Linked DNA regions of Homo sapiens: regions 2 and 3 are each linked to region 1. The links are contacts of gene promoters, found by promoter capture Hi-C in blood cells and fetal thymus (Javierre and others, 2016). All regions are on one chromosome and are shown on one strand. The core of a region is centred on a gene start or on the middle of the fragment in contact, and the rest is flanking DNA. Distances in the headings are between cores, read along the strand shown. Region 1 holds the start of CFAP69 (cilia and flagella associated protein 69). Region 2 holds the start of GATAD1 (GATA zinc finger domain containing 1). Region 3 overlaps SRI (sorcin).

Evidence for each region. The method cuts DNA at HindIII sites, captures the fragments that hold promoters and counts their contacts. A CHiCAGO score of 5 or more calls a contact.
Region 2: the fragment with the promoter of GATAD1 here is called in contact with the fragment with the promoter of CFAP69 in region 1 in 1 of 17 cell types (total CD4 T cells); the score reaches 5.2 in total CD4 T cells.
Region 3: a fragment that was not itself captured here is called in contact with the fragment with the promoter of CFAP69 in region 1 in 1 of 17 cell types (naive CD8 T cells); the score reaches 5.5 in naive CD8 T cells.

What each region holds. Positions count from the first base shown.
Region 1 is chr7:90,243,174-90,247,190 of GRCh38, reverse strand. It overlaps CFAP69 (cilia and flagella associated protein 69), which reads right to left and starts at 2,017. Exons shown (of 23, transcript NM_001039706.3): 1 at 1,647-2,017. The coding sequence starts at 1,766. LOC107986819 (a long non-coding RNA gene) reads left to right here and starts at 2,060. Exons shown (of 2, transcript XR_007060423.1): 1 at 2,060-2,114; 2 at 3,112-4,017. It also overlaps a transcript of STEAP2 not described here. RefSeq lists an enhancer at 640-1,152. The HindIII fragment of the contact is 7,562 bases long and covers 1-3,512 here.
Region 2 is chr7:92,445,515-92,449,531 of GRCh38, reverse strand. GATAD1 (GATA zinc finger domain containing 1) reads right to left here and starts at 2,050. Exons shown (of 5, transcript NM_021167.5): 1 at 1,554-2,050; 2 at 655-780. The coding sequence starts at 1,802. RefSeq lists an enhancer at 881-930 and a silencer at 1,361-2,130. The HindIII fragment of the contact is 4,596 bases long and covers 1-3,960 here.
Region 3 is chr7:88,204,967-88,208,983 of GRCh38, reverse strand. SRI (sorcin) reads left to right here. Exons shown (of 8, transcript NM_003130.4): 7 at 419-477; 8 at 2,480-3,869. The coding sequence ends at 2,506. Among named protein-coding and RNA genes, the nearest start is that of SRI-AS1, 9.7 kb to the left of the region's middle. The HindIII fragment of the contact is 1,518 bases long and covers 1,597-3,114 here.

The DNA of each region.
Region 1 (4,017 bases), core at 768-3,267:
TCATTTGTAAAAACAACCACAGGCAAAAAACAAGAAGGCTGAGGATCACTAAGATTTCTCCCAGCTATAAAAAGTTCCTATTCTATTTCTTTGGGGAGAAACTACCTTTTTCCTCAGTACTTCGAAAATGTTACTACTCTTAGAATTAGTAATTAACAAGTCAGAAACATGAATTAATGCAAATTGATTGCTTTCTTCTTGGAAGAGAATCCTAGGCCCTGGAAAGAGCAGTAGTAATGAAAGAAAAGAAAGAAAATTAAAATGGGGAGAAAATGCACACACATATACACAGGTATACTTGTTTCATTTGGTATGTTTTGGACTATTTTGGCAATGGCTTTTAAAAAGTATTTTTCCCTAAAAAAAAAAAAAAATCCACGCTTGCTTGCCTTGTATAACGTTGCCCAATTTTTCTTGGAGCAAGTAAAGGAAGACTGAGAGCCATCAGTTATCAAATTCACATACTTTTCAGTTTTGCCCCTTGCCTGGGAGTATGGCTGTATTGTTGATCTTTCTTGCAGCCCAGGGAGTGGAGAGCTATTGTTCCTCAAAATTCTCCCCGCCCAGAGGGGAATAGGTCCACAAAATCGATTAGGCAAATTCCCCTAACACCTATTTCTCCTCATGCAAAATGCTGTTGCTCCGCAGGTTACTGCGTAAATGTCAGACCTCAGAGAGCTCAACTCTATTCCCCAGTCAACTGACCACTCCCAAGGAACTCTCCAAGGCTCCAGGATGTGAACGCAAGAGACAGGGTTCCTGACGCAGCCTGAGATTTGAGAAGCCTCAACAGGAATTCCCACAGTGGCCCCACACCATTAGTGTGAGGCAGGACAGGGTTCCTCCAGGAATTCGCGGCTTTTAAGGCACGATCAGGGCTCTCTGGGGGATCAATGGAATCCTAGTAGGAAACAAACAACTTGGGGTTTCTAAACACCTCCGCCTCGAATAGAGATCCAAGGGCCTCAAATGGAATTTCTCAACAGATCAACTTCCAAGAGTGAATTTTGTATTCATAACAAAAGCAAACCCAAAACCAAATACAGTACAAGCATAATAAAACAAATCAACTCTATTCTCTCCCGGTTCTCTCCGACCCAACGTGTAACAACCAGCTTCCAATTTCATATTTTAAAAATGCTTAATTTCTAATTTAACAGCGTTTTCCTCCCCTCTGGGTGCAGGCTTTAGTCGCAGCAAATTTAAGCATGGGAAAATTTACATCTATATCAAGAACATCACTCGGTAACAGGGATCTACGTATTAAAAAGTTCAGTTCAAACTGATCAGGTCATCAAATCAAGATTTTGCTAAGAATGATTCCTTTCCTCCCTGTAGCTCTATGACCACTTTTCGAAGAAGCGCGGCAAAACCCCGCCTACTCAGTTTGCTAGGACCCTCCAGGAGGACCACACAGCGCTGGTCCCCAGACAGGATGGTTGACAACAGCCAGCCCCTCGCAACCGGTGCAGTTCGCAGGGGGTGGGGGATCAGGATTAGCTCTGCGCTTGGAATCTCCATCCCGCGGCTTCCCCCATCTTCACTCCTGTCCCCAGTTCCACCCTTGCCACCCCCAGGTCTGGACCCCGTCTCGAGACTTCACTCCCACCCCCTCCACCTCTGAAAGCACAGACACCTGCTCATACCTGCGCCTCATCGTCCTCCGTCACCACCCCAACCACCGGGATTTGACTGGAACTGCTAGACTTGTTCCTGATGCCGGATTCCTGGGCCTCGGCGGTCGCCCCGGCTTCCTCTGTCCACATGGCCGGTGGCGGCGGGGTGGAGAGTGGGGGGATCTTCCTGTCCTACAGTGCGCCCGCAGCCGCTGGGCCCAAAGAGGCCCCGCCACCGAGAAGGGAAGGCAGCCTGAGAGTCGCTAGAGTCGCGAAAGGTCCCAAAATTCCGCCAGGGGCCTAGGCCACCGCCATACAGTCCGCTTAGCGCCGCTGCCGCCCCCCAGTTGACCCAGACCTCTGATCCCGGGCCGGTTGTTAACACAAGCCAGCGCGTTGCTAGGGGGCGGGGCCAGAGGCTACGGAAAGCCGGAGAGCCAAACCACCCCAAAGCCTAATTGCACTCCGCGCCCGGCAGGGCGAGTTTGCAGGCTTGCGGTAAGGAGCCTGCAGGATGCACCTCGGTAGGTAGCGGGGAGTGGTGCCTTAGGCTCCCGGTGTGTTTCGGTCTTCATAGTCTTGCTTCAAACAGGCATGAGTGGGTGGAGGGGTGAGGGATGTCTATGGGATACGTTAGGCGTGATACGATGGACGGATAGTGTTGAAAGCGTTTCTCTCACCCCAGGGAAGTGACCAGTCTCGCTTACATTCCCCAGCTTTTATCTGTACTTTAGTGGCCCAACTGGACAGTTAAATAAACAAACATAAAAGGTATTGTACAGAATGTTAAAAGGCTTTTGAGTCAGTTTATTGAATCTAGAGCGAGTTATCCCTTGAAGTCTCACTTTTCTCATCTGTAAAATAGGACTGTTGTGAGGATTGAATGAGATGACAGTGTTTGTTAAGTGGTGCTTGGCACAGCATCCCGTATGGTCAAGATTATCATTATCTTTATTACTGTTTGAGAACTAAAAATTAAATCCTAAGCCCCACAACCGACTGAACGGACCCCCTTTTGGCCAAGAGGACCCCCGATAAACCTTAAAAGCTGAATTCCTCGCCCTGACGGGACGGAAGGACGGACACGCCTCGCTATACCCCCCTACCTCCTCCCTTTTCACGTCCCCCTCACCCCTGGTTTTTTGAGACAGGGTCTCACTGTGTCCCCCAGGCTGGAGTGCAGTGGCAGGATCGTAGCTCTGCAACCTCCAACCTCTGGCTCAAACGATCCTCCCGCTTCAGCCTCGGGAATAGCTGGGAGTACAGGTGCACATGCCACCAAGCTCGGCTCCCCCTCCCTTTGAGGGCTTAGACTCAACAACTGACCAGCATTAATGTTAAAATGGAGATCAGAAGGCTAACAGAATGGACTCTGTGGCAATAACAAATTATAAGCAAGACCTAAGGCCATGCCAGGCAAGAGTTAAGTCACTCACACCTACACTTAAAGAATAACCTTTGTTTTAACTGCTGCAATGTTTTTATTTTTCTCTAGCTGTTAAATAAGAACTGCCCTCGACATAAGCAATATTGAAATAATTGCAGCTCATCCATGGCCAGATGTTGACTAACAAGACCCTCCTGTTCCACAAGTCATAACTGCAGGTTTGATTGGACAAGGGACCGATTCAGTAACTTTCCCCTGATAAAAGACCACCCACTATGGACTGGTTCTGGCAGGTTTACAGAGACTGAGCACTAGTACATTCATGTCTCTGCTTCTCCTTTTGATGTATAGGGACTGTAATGCATTTAAATGTTAAGTTTCCACTCCACAGTGAGCATGGGATGCATGTCACATGCATGTTTATTCAGCACCCCTCTTAGTGAAGATTCACAGCTCTTCTTACAATCTGTTGAATATGTCTGTTTAGCCAACTCATTCAGCATAAAGCTTCTGCTCCAACCCCACCTCCTTCAAAGTGCCTGTTGACTGTCTCTGTGGGAGCCTGGGCTTCCCAGCCTGCAGAATGGCCAGCCTGCAGGTTGTAACTCATTATAAGAAACAAAGTCTCCTTTCTAAATTTATAGATCTTATGATTTTTCAGTTGACATGTTGTTGCCTATCCATTGTAGACTGAATAATAATACAAGAAGGGTCAAGACTATAATGGAAAGCTTCTCATGATGATCATCAGTATAATTTAATAACTCAAACACCATAACTGAAAATTTAAAAAACTCTAACTCTTTTAATCTGTTTTTTAAACTTTCAAAAATTATTCAAGATTTAAACGTGCATTTTTGTATCTTCCATAGAATTTATGAATTTAAAATTACATATAAATTCAATGAAAATAAATATTACTTCACTTCTCAGAGCTTCTCTCCTCATTTCTAGAATGAGGTTGATAAGTGATTTTGAAGGTTCCTTCTGCCTCAGACGTTGAATATTTCTGGC
Region 2 (4,017 bases), core at 801-3,300, 2.2 Mb before region 1:
AAAATAGTCCATAATGCACTGTCCACTGTGTTTGAACATTATCCCTTGTTTATAAAAACTGAGAATTTAATTGCAATAAAAATATGCTTTCAACTACTTCCAGCACAGGTCTTTCAACAATCTCTTTTCTTAGAGCAGAAGAGGAGATAAGGCTTAGCAAAATTTTTGACTCATATTCATCAAATACATCATCATCATAAGTCAGTAAGATACATTTTCTGGGGCTTTAATAACAAATAAATATGCAAATGATGAGTTCTAGTGTTAATATTTACTTAGATTTTTAAAGAATGAAAAAAAAAAGTTTTCTTAGTGTACCTGGCCATATCAAGAACCATAATCTCTCCTCTTCCTTTCCATAGAGAACCCCAAAAAATGGGCTCAAGGTTGATGTTTCTTTTAAACCCATATTTTATATTTTCCAGGGGAAAAAATAAAAGCTAAAAAACAAAAAGGAAAGAGTATTATTAACTTTATAAACAGTGAGCCTCCTGCAACAGAGCTCATTCCCTTTTGGGGAATCTGGACCATTCCCCAGAATACTAAGGAAGGGCTACCAAGGGCAGAGTCCAAGTTCAATGGTGAGAAATGAAGGCAGTGGCAGGATACACACAACGTCATTACAGTAAAAGGCACTGTCCACAAATATCTTACATTTTTCAATTTAAATATATGTCTTCTCCCTTTTCCTTTGGTGGAGACTTTCTTTTCAGCAGCCGGAGCAGATTTGTATTTAGTGTTTCTGAGCCGAGCAGACCTCCTGTGAATTTCCTGCTTACTCTGTTACACAAACAAATTAAAGAACAAAAAGAGAAAGAAGTAAAAAGTGCATAAAGGTTGCAGTACAATCATCTTACAAGGATCCCAGAGTATGTACTTTATAAGAGCATTTAACAATTAAGATTGCCCTTTTGCTTTTCAAGAGAAGTAATTACAGCAACTAGGCTAAGTAAAACCGGAAGTTCAGCACCCGGAATCTCGGAGCTCGCTGGACAGGCGTCTCCAGAGCCTCCAAAAGGTGTGAGCTGCTTGTAATAGGGCAGGAGGCGGGAGTAGGAGTCAGTCTTGACCAAGACAAACACTATTCATTTGTTGTGTCTACAATAGAGAAAAACACTTAACAACTTTACTCCCTAAGGCCAGAGAACGTAGTAGGTTATGGCGCCCCCTGCAACGGAATACTTAAGCTGCCATTTACAATAATGACATAATAATCTTACTTCATAACCTGATATGACAAAACCTTTAACAAGGAATGAGGTCCAGCGCCTGCATTTGTGGCATGACACTGTATACGACTGTGTAGACATGTGTATATTGAGATTTTCTTAAGGGCTTTACATCTTGGTTCTTATTGCTTTGAATTTCTTACAATAACAGGTGCTTCGGAATGGGCCAAACGAAAGATCTCAGTAGGAGGTGGGGAGGGGCGTTCCAGCCAGCAGGAGCACGGCGATCGGGGAAGCCCGCGCCCGCCCGCTCCCAGCCAGCCCGTCCCCGCCCGCCTAGCACCTGGTCGGCCTCCGCCGGCGGGAGGGGCCGGAGGAGCTCACCTGCTTGCCGCCCCCGCCCCCGTTGCTCTGCGGAGGGGTGGCGGAGGTGCTGGCGAAGGTCGCCGCGCCGAAGCCGCCGCCGCCGCTGCCCCCAGTCCCTCCAGCCGCCCCCGAGCCTGCGCCCCCGCTGCCCGCGCCGCCCCGGCCAGTGCAATGATGGCAGAGGATCTCCCCCTGCGCTCCCTTCTTCCACATGGAGGACGACGTGGTCTTGCATACGCTGCAGGTGGGCTTCAGGCCCAGCGGCATGGTGGCCGGCTCGGGCGGCCCCCGCGGGCGCAGAGACACGGGAATGGCGGACGGTAGCCCGGCCGCCCCCTGGTCGGCCCGCCACTCCCGGCGATAGGAAGAGCGGTGAGAGCGTCGGCACGGAGCTGCCGGTGAAAGGACCAGGCCGCTGGCGCTGCCCCGTGGAGGCGGGAAGCGGGTTCCGCCGGCTCCGCAGGCGGAGGCCAGGATTCCCTGGCCCGAGGCACTGGGAAGCAGGACTGGGAAAGGGATCTGGCCGGGGTGGGGGGGACGCGGAGACTTCCGGCGGTGAGCTGGCCCCAGGGCCCCGCAGCCCGACCGCCTGACCGGAAGTGCAGCACCCGGAATTACTGGGAGCTTGCTGCAGTTCCGCTTGCTGTCGCCTAGGGGCAGGGTTCTCAAACTTTTTGGTCTCAGGCCTAGAATTTGCCGGGTAAAATACAGGACGCCCAATTAAATGTGACTTTCAGGTAAACGACGAACAATTTTTTTAGCGTGAGTGTATCCCATGCAATAATGGTTTATCCGAGAGGCGTTTAACTGGGGGTCCTGTATTTTTATGTGCTAAATCTGGCAATCCAGGTCTGGCGTGGTGGCTCACGCCTGCAATCCCAGCACTTTGGGAGACCAAGGCCGGCGGATTACTTGAGCTCAGGAGTTCGAGATCAGCCTGGCCAACGTGGTGAAACCCCTTCTCTAATAAATATACAAAAATTAGCCGGGCTCAGTGGCGGGCTCTGGGGTAATCCCAGCTACCCTGGAGGCTGCGGCAGAAGAATCTCTTGAGCGCGGGAGGTGGAGGCTGCAGTGAGCCAAGATCGCGCCATTGCACTCCAGCCTGGGGGATAGAGTGAGACTCCGTCTCAAAAAAAAAAAAAAAATCTGGCAATCTTACTTAGGAACCCTTTACACTCTTAAAAATTATACTTTGGACATCGCCCTACACCTCCCCCATGTCTATACTTTTGTTTAGTTGAATTCAGAGCATGCCGTTTATGGACATCGACAAAGGGTTCAGAAAATGCCATCCACTGACATCTATGTATTAGAAATTGAAATTGAGACATTTTACAGCCTAAGATGTCAAGCGCACATTCTTCAGCCGTTGGATAATATCGTTGCAAATCCTGTGGACTCTGAAGAGTATACCGATTAGAGAATGCGGAGAAAATCGAATAGCTGGCTGTTATTCAATTCAAAACTGTTGGAAAACAGTTTTGGCTCTGAGGACCCAGCAGTTGACAAACAGCAGGCCTGGGACAAGAGCAGTATGAGAAGTCAGATCGCCTCTTTTAATGTCACTAGTCAGTACAGGCCTCGCCAGACAAGTCTCTCCTCAGCCTCACTTGGAAGAACATGCCCTCTCTTCATGATCCTGGGTTTCCTAGACTTAGTATCCTTGGAAAGGTCTTGATGAATATATTGTGGTGGGAAGCAGTGGGGAGAAACAAACGCCTATTATGTCACAAAACCACATTTAGTGCTTATAACAACCTTGGAATGAGATATTATCAGATTTTACTGTTAATTGGTGATCAACGGAGGCACTTCTATGTGGACTGGCTGTCATTATAGCTGCTGCCCTTGGCACCAATTTCGAGGAGGGCTTTGGAACAGCCCTCTGGGGTGTGGGTTGTGGCTCAGTCACCTCCCCTCTAAATCTCAGTTTCCTTAACAGTAAAAATAAGTTTCCAGGACTGTTATGGGGATTAGGGCCAACTGTAAAAGTGGCTGAGGAGACTAGGTAAAGAGTGTTGTCTCACTTTAGAACAATGCTGAAGGTGTTTAGAGCCTGCCATCCTAAAATATGCCACTTTGGCATACTGATTCTTCTGAGCCAGAGGCAATGGAGCAAAAACAGATGCAGGGAAGGCTGTCTGACCACCCTCTTTCTGTTTGAAGCGGAACATAAAAGTTCCCTTGTGAAAGGTGCCCTTTCTGTACCAGGAAGAGGAGAATATTATTGCCAGAGGCAGAGTTGCCACTGAGAAGAATCTACAAACAAAACCTTACAAAAATTTGTAACCCATATTTTCCATTAACTTTCTACATACGGTTCTTCGTCACTTTCCCACAATTTGCCAGCCTTAGCCCAAGCCCCTTTGTCTTGTCACATCCCTGCAATTTATTATTTTTTGTTTAAAAGGACATATAAGCTTTCGGGCCTAGTAACTTCTATGGGTCTTTATTTTTCTTACAAAGCCTCCTGTGCATG
Region 3 (4,017 bases), core at 1,106-3,605, 2.0 Mb after region 1:
CTGAAATGGTAGAGAAACTGATTACAGCCCATTTGTTATATTGGGGACTCTTTATCTGTTTCTTAAGCAGTATCTTTGTTATTAAGAAGCTAGAAATTCGGTGCTTTTATCACAATGAAGTAATGGCCATGGAAGTTGCACAGCTTTTACTGACTTTGGGTAAGGTATTTTCTCCAGATCTAAAAAAACAAAAAAACAAAAAACACAGCTGGCCAACTTCTGCCTGTTACTTTGTTGCATATTAAATCTTTTACTATTCATATAGTTGGCTTCTTTGCTTTGGTCTTTTGTTTATGTTAATTGGTTGCACAATTTAAATGTTACTGCAATGTGAATTCAATGCCAAAATAACTAACTTTTATGATTTTAGAAAAACCATTTAAAGAAAAACCATAAATTTTACTGTGTTGTTTTACAGACAGCTTTCGAAGACGGGATACTGCTCAGCAAGGTGTTGTGAATTTCCCATATGATGATGTAAGTCTTAGAAATTAAGAGATACAGTAGATGAAAAGGATGTACACCAGATGGGTATCCCTTTGAAATTAGCTGTTAAGAATATCTTAAGGTTAAGGATGCCAGAGACATAAGGGATTCAAAAGTTAGAAAGAGTTATCATCCAGAATTTATTAATTTCATTTATTAGTCTTAACTATAGTGAGACCATGATTTGATTTGCATTCAGAGACCTGGGTTCAAGACCCAGCTTGTTGTATTTATTAGCTGGGTCACTTAAGCAGGTTTCTTAATTGCTGTGACACTATATGAATAAAGAAGATATAGTAGTAATGCCTTTTTCACTGAGCCATTGTAAGATTTCTATTAGAAATGCCCTTGAAAAACACTATGCAGATATACTATCTGCTTTTGTCTTCTGTAAACAAATCATGTCAGTCACTGAGAATAGATAACAGCTCAATAGTTTTGCATACCTATGTTCTTCATTGAGGGCATAAGGCAGGCAACAACTTAAATCACAATTTTTTTTTTTTTTTTGAGATGGAGTCTCGCTCTGTTGCCCAGGTTGGAGTGCAGTGGCGCAATGTCAGCTCACTGCAACCTCCACGTCTCGGGTTCTAGCGATTCTCCTGCCTCAGCCTCCTGAGGGACTATAGGCATGTGCCACCATACCTGGTTAAGTTTTTTTGTATTTTTAGTAGAGACGGGGTTTCACTGTGTTAGCCAGGATGGTCTCGATCTCCTGTCCTTGTGATCTGTCCGCTTAGGCCTCCCAAAGTGCTGGGATTACAGGCGTGAGCCACTGCTCCCGGCTAAATCACAATTTAAAACAAGTTATTTACTAAACAGCCAAACTAAACAAGGGTAGGGTAAGGCCATGTAATCAGTGTGAACATAACCTAGTGCCATCTTTGATGGCATTAGCTGGATGTATATAACAAAGCTAGAGAGATTGGTTACTTGTTTCTTCAGTTTTTGCTCAGCCATTGATTTAAAAACAAAAAACAAACAAACAAAAAAACTTGTAGAATTGAAATGACTGTAATCACTGAATATTCCATTCTCCATTACAAAATATAAGATGCATGTATTTTTGGTTTAGCAGCTGCTGCAGTTATAAGTACACTTTTAAAAGCTTAGTATGTGTGTGTGAATATGCTTATTTTACCTGCTTAAGGGTGTGTTCTCTTTAACATGCGTTAACTTCTTAGTTGACAGTCCCCTTGCTGTTTCTAAAGATCAGAAGGCTGCCTGGGGAATGGAAAGAAAGACCATGGGCTTTGACTTCAGATGGGGCTACTTAAAAGATTTCTAAACATCCTGATCCTTATTTTCCTTTTCTCTAAAATAGGGATAATCACCTTGACCTTGCAATAGAGCTGCAAGGGTTAGCAGTGCACAATACCTTAGTAGTGTAGGGAACACTGATAGAGCAGAATCTATTGCTTTATGTTTAGCGGGGAAGCCAACATTTCACAGCAAATACTGGTATTTCTAATCTCAGGTATCTGAAGGGTTAGCTGTTCTGTTTCTGTGCATACATACACTTGCATGCTACAATTTGTTTTAATAAAGCAGATTTTAAGGCAATAAACTGTTTAAGGTGTTCCATTAGAGTAATGGGGTAATACTGTGTGGTTTGGAAATCCCCACGTAATACAACAGTATAAACTCCAGTTGTTTGTGTTTGTGGTAAGTGTCTTTGACCACGGCCATTTCTAGTCTTGGATATTATTTGGAATTTAAATAATTATTCAAATAATTATTTAAATTATTTATCCATTGAAGTTATATCTGCTTTCTCTAAGAAGTTTTGATGTGAGAAACCCTGTGGATTTTATATTAGACTGCTTCCCTAAAAAAAGGAAACTTTTCCATCTATCATTTACTCATATCTTAGAAAGTTGTAGGGGTTGTTTTACCCGTGTTCAAATTAGAAAACCAAATGTAAGCTGCCAGAAATAGGCTGTGCCGTATAAGTGCTTTGAGGTCTGTCATATAATGCTGATTTTTCTTTCAGTTCATTCAATGTGTCATGAGTGTTTAAATCAAGAGGAAGCTGCATGAATGTAATCAACATTCCAACTGGAGCTCTCCTTTGCTTGTCCTCTTTGCCTTCGGTAATATGTATAAACTTACATCACGACTTTCTCTTAACAGCTGTTGTAAAGTTTATTACTTTATGTACAACTGAAGTTTTGTTTTAGTTTTGATAATAAATTCTTTGGAACTTTAATAAGATCTAGTCTGTTACACCATTTAGAACTTTCCTGAGCCATTATCAGTCATGCCTTATTTTCTTGCTAAAACTCTATGTAAATTTAAGTATGCAAAATGTTTAAGTCACATTATTTATTTTTCATTGTGAGACACTAAAAACTGTTAATCAGACTACAGCTGTTATCTTTCCTCTCCTACAAAGAATACTCCACACATAAAAACTTAGGTAAATGACATAGACGCACTTGGGTGAAATAAAACAACAAAAAAGGTAATCCAGTAATCCACGTCAGGATTCACCTTAGAAGTTTAGCACACGCCCTTCAAAACCTGTTGAATAATTTGATTGGCAAATACTATCTGTCACCAAGTCCCTTTTTGTCATCTATTTAAACCTTTGTTAACTCTCCTTAAAAATCTTGTACATTATAAGCTTAACTATATAAAAAGAAAATTGATAGAAAAAGACTAAGGGAATATATGGAAATATTAACAATGTTTATTTTGGATGAATGGAATTCTAGATGACTTTAATTTTCTTTATATCAGTATTTTTCAGATTTTCTATATGCTTTCCTTTTAAAATCAGATTTTAGTTTTTAAAATACTGATACATCCATTTTGATATACCATGTATTCACACTTTAAAAAATACACATAGCAGAGTATCGGAAAGTATGTACCAAAACATTGATCTGGCTACCACTGGGAGTCAGGATCATGAGTTCATCTTCTTCCTTCTTACTGCTTTTCCAAACATTCTCCAGTAAGCAGGTACTACATTTATAATGGAAGGAATTTTTTAAAAAATTTTAAGCTGTACACTTTCAAGTAAGATCTGAATTCTAATGCTGGCTTGTGCCTCTTACTATGTGGTTTGGTCATTATAGATAATGCCCAGTTTCAGTTTCCCCATCTTTGAAAAGGAGATAATATGTTATCTCTTGGGAGTAGTTCTGAATATGAAGTGTGTTGATACAAGAAGCACTGACAATGTTTCTGTTTCTTAAATTTAAAACTGGCCTGGTTTGCCTTTTTTATCAAGAGAGCTTAACAGATAAAAAATGAAATTAGTCTATTTTCTACTTGCCAGCAGAGTATCTGTCTTATTTTAGGATGCAGTGTGAAACTTACCATTCAACTGAACAACTAGTTGTCAACTAATGAAAATAAAACATTTTCTCTAAGCATCTTTAGCCTCATTTCACTATTAATTTTTTAAAATATTGTTAAAATATATATTATTCAAACCTAACATATAACTATGGCAAGTTAGTTAGCCCAGGTTACATATCAGAATGTGAAGCAGCCTGCTATATATTACACAGTGACTATAGA